2 separate regions of the Homo sapiens genome follow, and region 2 is linked to region 1. Evidence: promoter capture Hi-C in 16 types of primary human blood cells and fetal thymus (Javierre and others, 2016). All regions are on one chromosome and are shown on one strand. The core of a region is centred on a gene start or on the middle of the fragment in contact, and the rest is flanking DNA. Distances in the headings are between cores, read along the strand shown.

Evidence for each region. Contacts are between HindIII fragments. The CHiCAGO score rates a contact against its expected background, and 5 or more counts as called.
Region 2: a contact is called between a fragment that was not itself captured here and the fragment with the promoter of TYRO3 in region 1, in 1 of 17 cell types (M1 macrophages). The highest score is 5.5, in M1 macrophages.

The regions. Positions count from the first base shown.
Region 1 is chr15:41,555,842-41,561,694 of GRCh38, reverse strand. It overlaps TYRO3 (TYRO3 protein tyrosine kinase), which reads right to left and starts at 2,483. Exons shown (of 19, transcript NM_006293.4): 1 at 2,314-2,483; 2 at 385-568; 3 at 56-156. The coding sequence starts at 2,437. It also overlaps the pseudogene ELOCP2. RefSeq lists enhancers at 1,355-1,996, 2,563-3,064 and silencers at 1,868-2,068, 2,375-2,544, 2,555-2,694, 2,633-2,799, 2,745-2,834. The HindIII fragment of the contact is 16,850 bases long and covers 1-5,853 here.
Region 2 is chr15:41,735,679-41,741,531 of GRCh38, reverse strand. MGA (MAX dimerization protein MGA) reads right to left here. Exons shown (of 24, transcript NM_001400225.1): 13 at 4,834-5,351; 14 at 1,329-1,626. Among named protein-coding and RNA genes, the nearest start is that of MAPKBP1, 36 kb to the left of the region's middle. The HindIII fragment of the contact is 2,708 bases long and covers 2,179-4,886 here.

The DNA.
Region 1 (5,853 bases), core at 1,234-3,733:
CCAGCAGACAGCACGTGCTCCAGGCCAACACGCCCATATGGCTCTGCCTCCTCACCTTCTACCGTGAGCCACACTGGCTGGGAGATCTCGGTTTCACCCCCATCCTCCACCTGGCACCAGTACCGGCCGGCGTCAGAGCGCTCCACTGACTTCAGGCTGTGGAAACAGGATACGAGGCTTGCTTCCGAGGGCAAGGGCGGCAGCTCTGCTGGGCAAACTTGATGAGTTCAGCCTGCCCCCACTTCTGGAAGGTCCCACAGGTAGCCAAATAAAAAAACCACAGACCTCTGGGCATCAGGAGAGGGCCCCAGCTCCCAATCCCCAAGGAAAGAGCATAGCCTGCCCCCTGGCTGGCAGCCCACACCTTCCCCCACAGGCCTGCACCTGAGGAAGCCGATCCAGTGCTGCTCGCTGACTGGGATGTACAACTGGTCCAAGTTCTGGACCACAGCCCCATCCTTCACCCACTGGATGTCAGGCTCCTCCATCCCCTCCACACTGCAGTTGAGCTTCACCGGCTGCCCCTGAGACACTGTCAGCTTCACCGGGGCTCCCATGAGCTTCAGACCTGAGGGGTGGGAAGGAACATGTGTCAGCCTTGAGAGGGACTCTGTCTCTGTAAACAGTTCCCATTCTCTTCTAGAAGGTAGCTTCTGTGTCAGACAGAGGGCTCTTTCTCAGCCAAAGTCAAGGAAGCAGAGGTAGGACAGTGTGGAAGGGAAGGTCGCTGGACCTGGGCGAAGGGAAGGGGCATGGCAAGCTCTCCAAGTTCCCTCCGGCTCTAAGGACCTCTTCCCCATGTCCTCCTTCTGAGCCCAGACAGCAAAAGGAAGGCAGGCTGGGCTGAAACGATGGGAGTTACCCTACTGGGGCAGGCACTGCTCTAGGAATGACTGCTGCACCCAACTAGTGCAACAGGCTGCCAGCTCTCCACCCAAGGTGTCAGCCCAGACCCTGAATTGCTGCCAGCACCCTCTGCACCCAACCTTACCAAATGGAGCAGGGCTGAAGAAGGAAAGGAGGGGGTGCTCCCCTGAAGTGGAGAACATATGGCTGCAAAACCACGTCAGATCAAACACATGGCAGCCTTCCTGGCAGCCATCCACTCTATTAATACCTGAATGTGGGCAGGGGCGAGTGCTAGGAAGGTGGGAGGCAGAAGGGAGGGCTGGGGCCCTGAGCAGGGAGCCTAAGACCCCTGAGCCACTGCCACATTAACAGGGGCCACTCTTTGGAACTTGCGTGCGAGCGCGCGCGCGCGCGCGCACACACACACACACACACACACACACACACACACATACACGCACCTCTCCTGGCCTCCTGGCATGTTTTTAAGCAGAGAGAGGGGCAGGTCAAGTATCCACATAACTGAAATCCAGCCCTGCTTCTTCTCACCCTTTGCTGTGTGACTCTAGGCAAAGTCGTGGGCTCCCTGAGCATCAGGTCCGCACCTTTCGGCTTGTAAATACTCGTCACCCCGTTTCCCTTCCCTTCCCTGAGAGGCTGATATGGCAAGGAATGCTGTCTCAAGAGAAGATGCCAGCGGGTGGCCGCTGTCCTGGCCTGTGGCTCTTCCCTGCTCCCTTCACCCTCTCAGGACCAGTCACAGGATGGGGGCCAGCCTCCCGCTCCCTATATGCCCATCAGTCCCCGAGGTGCGGGGTGGGAACTTGGAGAGCACCGTGCTGCATGGAACGCTCTTGTCACCAGCAAATGCCTCAGTGGCTATGTGGGAACACAAGACTAACCCCTCCCAAAGACCAGCAACCTGGCACCAGCCCATCCTCTCCAAGGTTCTGCTTTCAGGAAGCTCTGAGGGCACAGGAACTCGAGTGTGCCCATTTGTTTTTTGTGACTGGGCACCCTCACAGCCCCTGTGTACCTAAATGGTATCAGGGTGGCCTTTGGGTGCCCAGCCCCGGCCCGTGTGGTTTCCGAGGCGGACCTTCGCGTGCGGGGCAGGCAGAATGGGGTCCCCAGTACTGGGAAGGAGGGAGCTAACAGCTGGGAACATCGAGGCGGGAAAATGCAGTCCCAAACACTCCCCGCTGACCACACAGCCCACACCCCGCTCCCTTCTCTTCCACCCCGCCAGAAGAGCCCCGAGCGCCAGAAAGTTGGGGGTGGGGGCCCGGCCGGAGATCTGGCGGCGAGCACTCCGCAGCGTGCCCTGTCCCGGCTCCGAGCCTCGGCCTTCGGCTCCGGACCCCCACCCCGACTCCAGCCCGCCAGGCCCGCCCCGGGCTCCGACCCCCGGCCGCGCCCCTCCGCAGCCCCCCGCTTCCCGCCGCCTCCCGTGCCAGCCCCTACCTGCGGCGGCGGACTCCGGGAGCAGCAGAGAAGCCAGAGCCGCCAGCAGCAGCCCGAGCCGCGGTGGCGGCGGCAGCGGCAGCGGCGGGAGCCCCGGCCGCCCCATGCTCCGCCTCAGCGCCATCGGCGGCGACGCCGCACCATGCCGGGCCCGGCCCGCGAGCGAGGAGGGAGGAGGGCGGGGAGGAGGCGGCGGGAAGGGAGCGGGAGGGAGGAGGGCTGCGGGAGGGGCTGGGGCCGCCCGTGGGGCGGTGCTGAGGCGACCGCCTCCGAGACCCGCGCCCGCCTCCGGCCGCGGTCGCCGCCGTCAGCAGCGCGGGGTCCCCGGGGCCGCTCCCGCGCCACCGCGCTCCTTCCACTGCCGTCGCCGCCGTCGCCGCCGCTGATTCATGTTCTTCTCGGAGCCGCCGCCTCCTCCCGGCCCGCCCGCAGCCCGAGCTCGCACCGCCCCCCCGCGGAGCCCCGGCGACTGGCTCGGAGCGCGAATCCCAGCCAGCGCCGCAAACCCCCGCGGCCCCGCCGGCGCCCCGCCGGCACGCCGGCCCCAGCCGCCCCCTGGCCAAACCTGAGGATCCGGCTTGGCCTCCAGGATGGGCTCCCCGGCCACGCCCCTCCTTTCCCTAAACCCGCTCCGGCATCTTTTCTAACCCAGCCCTCCAGAGCCTTCCCTCAAAACCCCGCTGTCAGCCCCCACCACACCCCAACTCTTGTTCGGACTCTGATCCCAGAATCCAGCATCCCCCTCTCAGGACTTAGAGCACCTCAACCCCTAGACACTCCCATCCATCTGGCTCCCCGAAACTGCCGTGACCCGGGGCTCCCCCAACAGGATCGGCTAGCATCCCTTCGTGCCTCCCTTTCATTGAGCCATTCACCCAAAATCCCCATATTCATGTCCTATTGCCATGCCTTTATCTCCAAGTCCCTCCCACCTGAAAAATGCCCATTTTCTCCAGCCCCAATTGCCGTATGTTTTCCAACTTGGGTCCTGAGTTTCCCAAGATCTTGGTAATCCCCAGGTTTTACCTAATATATATCCCCACCACTACACTACACAGGCCAAAGCCTAATTGCCCGTATCTTTTTGGGCTGTCATTTTTCCTGGTTGCTTCCCCTGCTTCTACCCCTTTTCCCAGGACCTGGTGTGAAAGTTGGCTGTGTCGTCACACTGTCCAGTCAAACATTAGCTATTATTAGTAGACCACCTTGCACACAGTAGGCTTTCCATAAATAAATAGGCAGATGCCTGTTAAATGAATGAATAATTGCTTCAGAGCCTGCCCCACAACCAGTAATCACGAGGGTGGCCTTGCCCACAGACATCCTGTTAGGCACATGCAGAGCTGGTTCCAAACCAAGCCTACCAAGTGTGCTCCTCCCCTTGCCCTTCCCTCCAGGGGGAAGCCCACCCCACACCCCTTCCAGAGGTCCTGGGTAGAGAGGAGGGACCAGCCACTCAGCTCCGGTTGCCGCAGGCTCACTGGATCTTTTCAGGGATTCTCCTGAGCAGCAGGGGCCTGCCTCTTCTTCCACTTGGCCCCAGCAGTGCTTGTTTATTAATTACCCTAATGATAACAACAGCAGTGCTGGCAGCAGCCTGAGACCCAGCTGGGGGCGCCCCCAGGCGGCAGCAGGAGGAGAGACTCATGAGGCACTGTCAAGACATGGATGGCAGGGGCCAGATATCTCTGTCTCTGTTTCTTTCTTTTTTTTTTTTTAATTGGCATATTTGTTTATTTCTCAGTTTGTGAAAATGTTCTTAATTTGTTGATGTAGCAAACAAATTTCAACTTTGATTGCTATGAAAAAAACAAGATAATCTGCTTTGCAATGAACTTTATATAGTTAAACTGCATACAGGCAACATGCTATATATGAAAAAGTTACTAACTGATCTACAGGTATTACATACTGAAAAGAGTTAACAGTTTATTATAATTTATTTTATTTAACAATCTAGGAAGTTCGCAGCCATCAGCAGTTCTAGTACAATTTCAGGTGCAATTGGGAATTCAGGAATCTCGATGGAGCTGTTAGTGTAGCGAACCTTGTAGGTAAAATACATGCATACTTTCGATAGCACATGTGAAGGTATCTCTCTAAAATTGACCTCATTGGTTTCGTTCTCAGCAAACTGACCTCACAGCATAAACAAAAATTAACTTAAGACCAAAGACCTAAATTTAAAAGCCAAACCCATAAAACGCCTGGGCCACTCAACATGGCTTTTATCGTGCCTGATGTTAATGCATGTTCTCTTTTTACAATAAATTCATGGCCATCAGATGATATCAATTTGACATACGTGGCATCAGGGCCTTCACAGCCACCATAGGTTTTCTCCTCTCCATCCATTTTGTTCTTATGAAATTCTACTTTGCTTCCCCAGGAACTTTAGTAGTTTCCTGGTGAGGCGAGGACACAGAGTGTGTGGCTCACTTCCGTCTCCTCTGTCTCTGTTTCACTGAGCTCTCTGGCAATTATGTTCTTCTTCCTTCTTCCTTCTTCTTCCTTCTTTCTTCTTCTTCTTCCTCTCCCTCTCTTCCCCTTCCCCTTCCACTTCCCCTTCCCCTCCTCCTCCTCCTATTCTTCTCTGCTTCTTCCTCTTCCTCTCTTTCTTCTTCTTCTTCTTCTTTTTTTTTTTTAGATGAAGTTTCACGCTTGTCGTCCAGGCTGGAGTGCAATGGTGCGATCTTGGCTGACTGCAACCTCCACCTCATGGGTTCAAGCGATTCTCCTGCCACAGCCTCATGAGTAGCTGGGATTACAGGTGCCCACCACCACGTTCGGCTCATTTTTGTATTATTAGTACAGACAGGGTTTCACCATGTTGGCCAGGCTGGTCTCAAACTCCTGACCTTAGGTAATCCGCCCACCTCGGCATCCCAAAATACTGGGATTACAGGTGTGAGCCACTGTGCCTGGCCTCTCTGCCAATTTTCTTGAGCACTGTGGGTCAGCTTCAGGACCCTTTCCCAAAGGAAAAGTCTCGTTACTTTCCAGAATCCACAGTTTCTGAGTTTGGGCTGAGTCAGGGCAGGCAGACAATAGTCTGGGGCCGAAGGCAGAATTGCCTGGGCTGCTCTTGGGCACTTGTCACTTTTCCAAGCCCTCTCTCCCGCCTTTTCTCTGAGGGGGACTTCAAGTTTCCAGTGAAGGGGAGCCTCCTCCTCTTGATTCCAGCTGACATTAGTAAGATTCATTCTAGAGGATGTTGGACCCAGAGCCCAACCCAGCCTTTTACTTCCTTATCTCTCTTCATTCCCTCCGCACCATTTCCTGAGCTGATAGGGAATCCCACCCTAAAGGCCATCCTTTTCTACTGGTCAAAATGGGCTTCTCGGACATGTGATGGATGCCACTTACAGCCTTGACAAACTTCCCACCTCAGCCACCAGCCTGAGATACATCACTGTCACAGAGGCAGCACACTTTCTGTGTGGGACAGGGGGCCCTGAGTTCCTGCTTCCCCTACCCCTAATTCTAAATCTCTCTCAATTCATAGTATTTCTTTTTTTTTTTTTTTTTTTGAGACGGAGT
Region 2 (5,853 bases), core at 2,283-4,782, 180 kb before region 1:
GAGCACTCTCACCTCTTTACAGCTGTGCTATTATGAGATGCTTACGTATTACATATTCCTAAAATATATAAAGACATTTCTCCAAACAGATCAGGATAGGATTGCTTTTTTTACTCCCCTTAATCACAACTGAAGCTGCCTTAATAAAAGGTAAAATAGATTCTTTTTTTTTTTTTTTTTTTTTTGGAGATGGAGTCTCACTCTGTCACCAGGCTGGAGTGCAGTGGCACGATTTCGGATTACTGCAACCTCTGCCTCCCGGGTTCAAGTGATTCTCCTGCCTCAGCCTCCCCAGTAGCTGGGACTACAGGCGCATGCCACCACTCCCGGCTAATTTTTGTATTTTTAGTAGAGATGGGGTTTCACCATGTTGGCCAGGATGGTCTCTATCTCTTGACCTCGTGATCCACCCGCCTCGGCCTCCCAAAGTGCTGGAATTACAGGAGTGAGCCACCGCGCCCGGCCAAAATAGGTTTTAAGGCAAACAATAAATATCTTCTATCTTCACACAACTCTAACCATTCAGCCAGAGATTTCAACTGACACTCTTACCTAACATTCCTAACAGATTTGAAACAACAAAAAGAGGAATTCAATAAACCAACTATAGATACTCTCAATGCTAAAACACAAATGTTTCAAGAAGGTAATTTATTACAGACTTCAGCATTTAAATGTTAAGGAAAAGAGAGATTTTCATTCATAGAACAGAGATGAATGGAATAAATCAACACTTTCAAAATTGTATTTATAGGAGCTTTCCACTTTAAGCCTATACTACTTACACCACTAGCTTTTGCTAGCTCCTTGGTTTCATAAGTTTAAGAAGTATCAACAGAAGCATTTACATAGCACCAGCAAGAGTTCAACAAGAGGCCAGAAACACCAGTCCTCACAGGAAAATAGTAAACTATTTTTAATTTAGTAAAATATTTTAGTAAATAATTTAGTATAATAGTAAACTATTTTTAAATGTCTTCCCTTTTTAGAAACAAAATTAAAATCCTTAAGTCTTTTCTACATTAATAACAACCAGTCTGAAAACCTTAAAAATAACTATAAAACTTGCCTTCAAGTCAGTGTTATTAAAAAATAAAAAATATATATAAAACCAAGAAATTAACTATAAAACAACTCAATTCATCTAATATTGCAGGTTATCAGACGTTAACCCCAAACAATCAAAAAAGTCCAGGCAAGACAGACAACAAGAATAAGAATAATGCCAAAGTACATATTTCTCTAATTTTTACAACCTCCATACCTGTACCCACTGTCCCACCACCAAGTCATAGGCCTTTCCAAACCATACATACACCCCAACTTACCAATTGGCCGTTTTGCTGGGACAAACGCCTTCAGATTCTTCCCAGGGCGATTTGTTGCAGTGCCAGAGGAGGATGCCATTTTGGAATTGGATGTTGAAGGCAACAGGGTACGTGGTTTCCTGGATGCAGCCACCTTGGCATTGGATGCTACCTTGGAGATGACAGTACTGAGGGTTGAGAGGTCCAGGACTGAGGGTCGCAACCTGCCTGTGATATAAGCAGCTAGCCTATTGGCTGGATGCAATGCCCCCATCTGTCCCAATAGCAACTTAGCCTGCGGGTAACTCTTACCATTAACCTGAAACAAGTGGCAAAGAGAAATTCTGTAAAGATAAAATTCTCTTGCTAACTCCTCTCCCTTGACAGGGGCTTCATTTTTACAAGTTTTCATAAGTCTATTTTTCAGATTTAAAAGGGAAAAAGAAGTAGACTTTTTCCATTTAGAATAATCTGAGTAATCAGAAGGTAGAAAAATGCTGTCAACTGATATTCTGAACTAATCTCATCTCCTTCATATTGTAGTTTGAAAATAGAGAATCGGAAACTCATCATTTCTGCATCCTAGTTATGTGAAAGTTATCATCAAATCTAAACAACTAGAATTATCCAATTGTTTTCCTTGTAAATAAGGCATTCTGGTTAAGCTATTAACCTCATCAGCAAAAATGAGTGTCCCACAGAATCTCTCTGATAAGACCAGAGAGACATAATGAAGCTCTCACACAAGGGTCCTTTCAAGCATCCTTCATATTTGAAAAATATAAGTGAAATCTACTTTAAGTTATAAGACAATCATTGTTGCAATAACCTAAGCCACAATTACCTCACAGTTTTTCATTTTCAAAAAGCTTAGCTTTGAAAATACTATTTTCATCTCTTGGATAAAACATGGGTTCAAACTGAATGTTGGTACGAACTCATTCTTATTCTAGACATAATTAACTAAATAGTCAGAAGAAAGTGAACCAACAAATGAAGTAAAGATCCCCTCTGCTGCCTGAGTTTATCAGACTGCCCATCATGGGTACCAGCACAGTTGTTTTTTGTGGGGGTTGATTTCTTTTCTTTTTTTTTTAAAGAAAGAAAACAAAAACTTCCCAAGTCTCTACCCATGTTCTCTAGGTCATATTGCCAGGCAACTCTAGAGAAGATAACCTTTTCTATATTTCCTTTTCACCATTTCAAAATCGGGGGTTGGGGGAGATGGAGTGAGGTAGAATCTACTCTCTAACAGGGAACTGGTGAGGAGACCAGCTACAGCAAGCAACTCCATCTTCAGAGACACAAAACAAAATTACTCTTTGCTACTTTGGTTAAATTGTGATTATTCCCACAGAGATCAAGAATATCTCTGCCTTGAGTTTGGTACAAAGAATGTGATCATTCCCCCTGAAAGTAGACTTTACTGTAACTTTTCAGGCTATACAGAAATAGGTCAGATACCCCCTCCCGGATCCCTTGGGACTGCGCTGAAGCCTACTCTGCAGCTTCCCCAAAGTTTACAAAGTTTACAGTTGCCTGACTGCTTATGCAGACACATTCTATGGTGGCTTTGTGAGTCCTGGGCAGAAGACAACAAAAAATTTCCATGCTTGTATTTTAGGGAGTCTAGTCTCACTAGAAATTGTATCAGGCAAACCTCTGTTTTCAAAGTGTCAATCAATATATAAGGTAGAGAAAATACTGTTCTCCTCATCAAGAGTATAAGAAATATCAACAGAAGCATTTACATAGCATGCACAACAGTAAACTGCAATAATAAGTTTTTTAATTAAGTAGATCAATCATATTAATATTATTTTCTCTTTTGAGATGGAGTCTCACTCTGTCGCCCAGGCTGGAATGCAGTGGCGTGATCTCGGCTCACTGCAACCTCTGCCTCCCAGGTTCAGGCGATTCTCCTGCCTCAGCCTCCTAGCTGGGATTACAGGCACACGCCACCATGCCCGGCTAATTTTTGTATTTTTAGTAGAGATGGGGTTTCACCATGTTGGTCAGGCTGGTCTTGAACTCCTGACCTCATGATCTACCCGCCTTCACCTCCCAAAGTGCTGGTATTACAGGTGTGAGCCACCATGCCCAGCCTATATCAATCATATTATTAATGGAGAAGTCCTTAGTGACTTAGAAGCAGCCAATCTAATGAAAGTCAAGCTAACTTTGCAATAATATCAGACACTTCCACACATTTGCTACTCTAATATAAAAGTGCACTTTTTTTTTTTTGAGACAATCTCCCTCTGTTGCCCAAGCTGGAATACAGTGGCACAATCTCAGCTCACTGCAACCTCCACCTCCCAGGTTCAAATGATTCTCCTGCCTCAGCCTCTCAAGAAGCTGGGATTACAGGCGCGCGCCACCACGCCGGGCTAACTTTTTTATTTTTAGTAGAAATGGGGTTTTGCCATGTCGGCCAGGCTAGTCTCAAACTCCTTGCCTTAGGTGATCCACCACCTCGGCCTCCCAAAGTGCTGGGATTACAGGCGTAAGCCACTGCGCTCAGCTAGAAAAACCTTTTCTGACTATGACATTAATTCAGAACGTCTCTTTTCAAATTTTCTATATGCCAGTATAATTTTACTAATACAACCTGCGTGAATTACTAAGTATCAAGGATAAAGGTATTTGTCCTACAACAGTTACACTAACAAAACCCCTACGAATCAAATAAAGAAAAAATATAATTAAGTAAATATGGCTGAATTTTTACTCTTGTATTTAAATAACACCTTACTAAATTAAAATTTTCAGCCATGCATGGTGGCTCACCCCTGTAATCCTAGCACTTTGGGAGGCCAAGGTGGGTGGATCACCTGAGCTCAGAAGTTCGAGACCAGCCTGGACAACATGGCGAAACCCCGTCTCTACTAAAAAAAAAACAAAAACAAAAAAAAACACACACAAACACAAAATTAGCCAGGTGTGGTGTCACATGCCTGTAATCCCAGCTACTTGGGAGGCTGAGGCACAAAGAATTGCTTGAACCCAGGAGGCAGAGGTTGCTGTGAGCCAAGATTGCAATAAATAAATAATAAATAAAAATTTTTAAAATTTTCCCCAAGTTTCTAAACATATATTGCCTATCTTTAAGTCAATTTCATCTTCCCCTTACACCTACCGTTCTAACCATGGTTTTGTTTTGAAACCTATCTGCTAATAATAAATTCCAAGAGCTAGACTGAATCCCTGATTACCCTTGCTTTATTGTCAAAGTATCACTAGAGCCTGCAGGCAATAAAGTTTATGAAGAGCAACTTTCTGGGAAGATTAGAAAGAAAATTAAAACTAATACAAGGCTCTACGTTTCTGTTCATAAATGTGACAAAAATTCACTCTAGGTATGCATCTAAACTAGGCCTATTACAAAAAGAGATAATAATTTTGTCACCCAGTTCCCAGGAAATGTCAAGATAAAGGATATCAGGACCATAAAGGGCTCTGAAAAATCATGATACTACCTAGGTGTATACAAAGGTGCTATACCCAGATTAAAGATAATTCTCACCTGGATAAGCCCAGATGTACTTGAACTGGGTTTACGTTTATAGGCCACAAGCTTCCCTGCAGGAGAAAGCCCTGCATAAAAAGGCAGACCTTTGCCTCCATGTAATCTCTCCCTCACTGAATCCAGGGCATCTGTCTGCACAGGAGAGATATCCTCCATTTTCCCAGGGGACAATGGACCATCAGGAGTCTCTGATCCAGATTTCTCAGCCATATCATCTTGGTCTTGACATGATGGCATAGAGATTTTCACACGAGAAGAATAAACAGGAGGGTTCTTCTCACCCCGGCTCTTTCGCTGAGAAGCCAACTCAATGATGAAGCTGCCCACCTTAAGTGATTGTGGCATGTTGCTATTGATGTGCTGGGATAAGATGCTCAAAATCTTGTTCCGATCTTCCTCCCAGTTGCAGTCTGAGATGATCTCAATCAGTTTGGTGGGACCACCAGGTGACCTCTGATGCATATAAGAAGTAGAAGAGGATTCTCCTTCATTGCAGGAAGACTTCCAGCTCTTTTCTGATGTAAAATAATAATAAAAAAGAAAAAGTTGAAAGATTATTTCTGCATCACAGCATTTTGTATGAAACTCTGAAAAAAAACTGTCACATTCTCACGTTCTTTCACAGTAGTAACTTAAAATGTATCAACTTTCACAATTTGGGAGTTTTCCAGGAAGAAAAAGTTCCAGAGAATAAGACTACAATAGTCCTCATTATCCTGCTGACTGGGCTCTAACAGGTAGTTCCCTTAACACTACTCTAAATGCCACAATTATTACATTAGAGTTAGCTTGCAAACAAACCATGACCTACAACCAAGGTTAAGCTTCACTGGTATAGGTTACTATTTTGCTATACATACAGGCAAAGTGAAACTACTTGCTAGATGCTTTGAAACATGTACAGATTAGAGTCAATCCAAAAGAACAGCAAGAAAAATAGTATTCTGATTTTTTTTTTTTTTTGAGACGGAGTCTAGCTCTGTCGCCAGGCTGGAGTGCAGAGGCGTGATAGCTCAC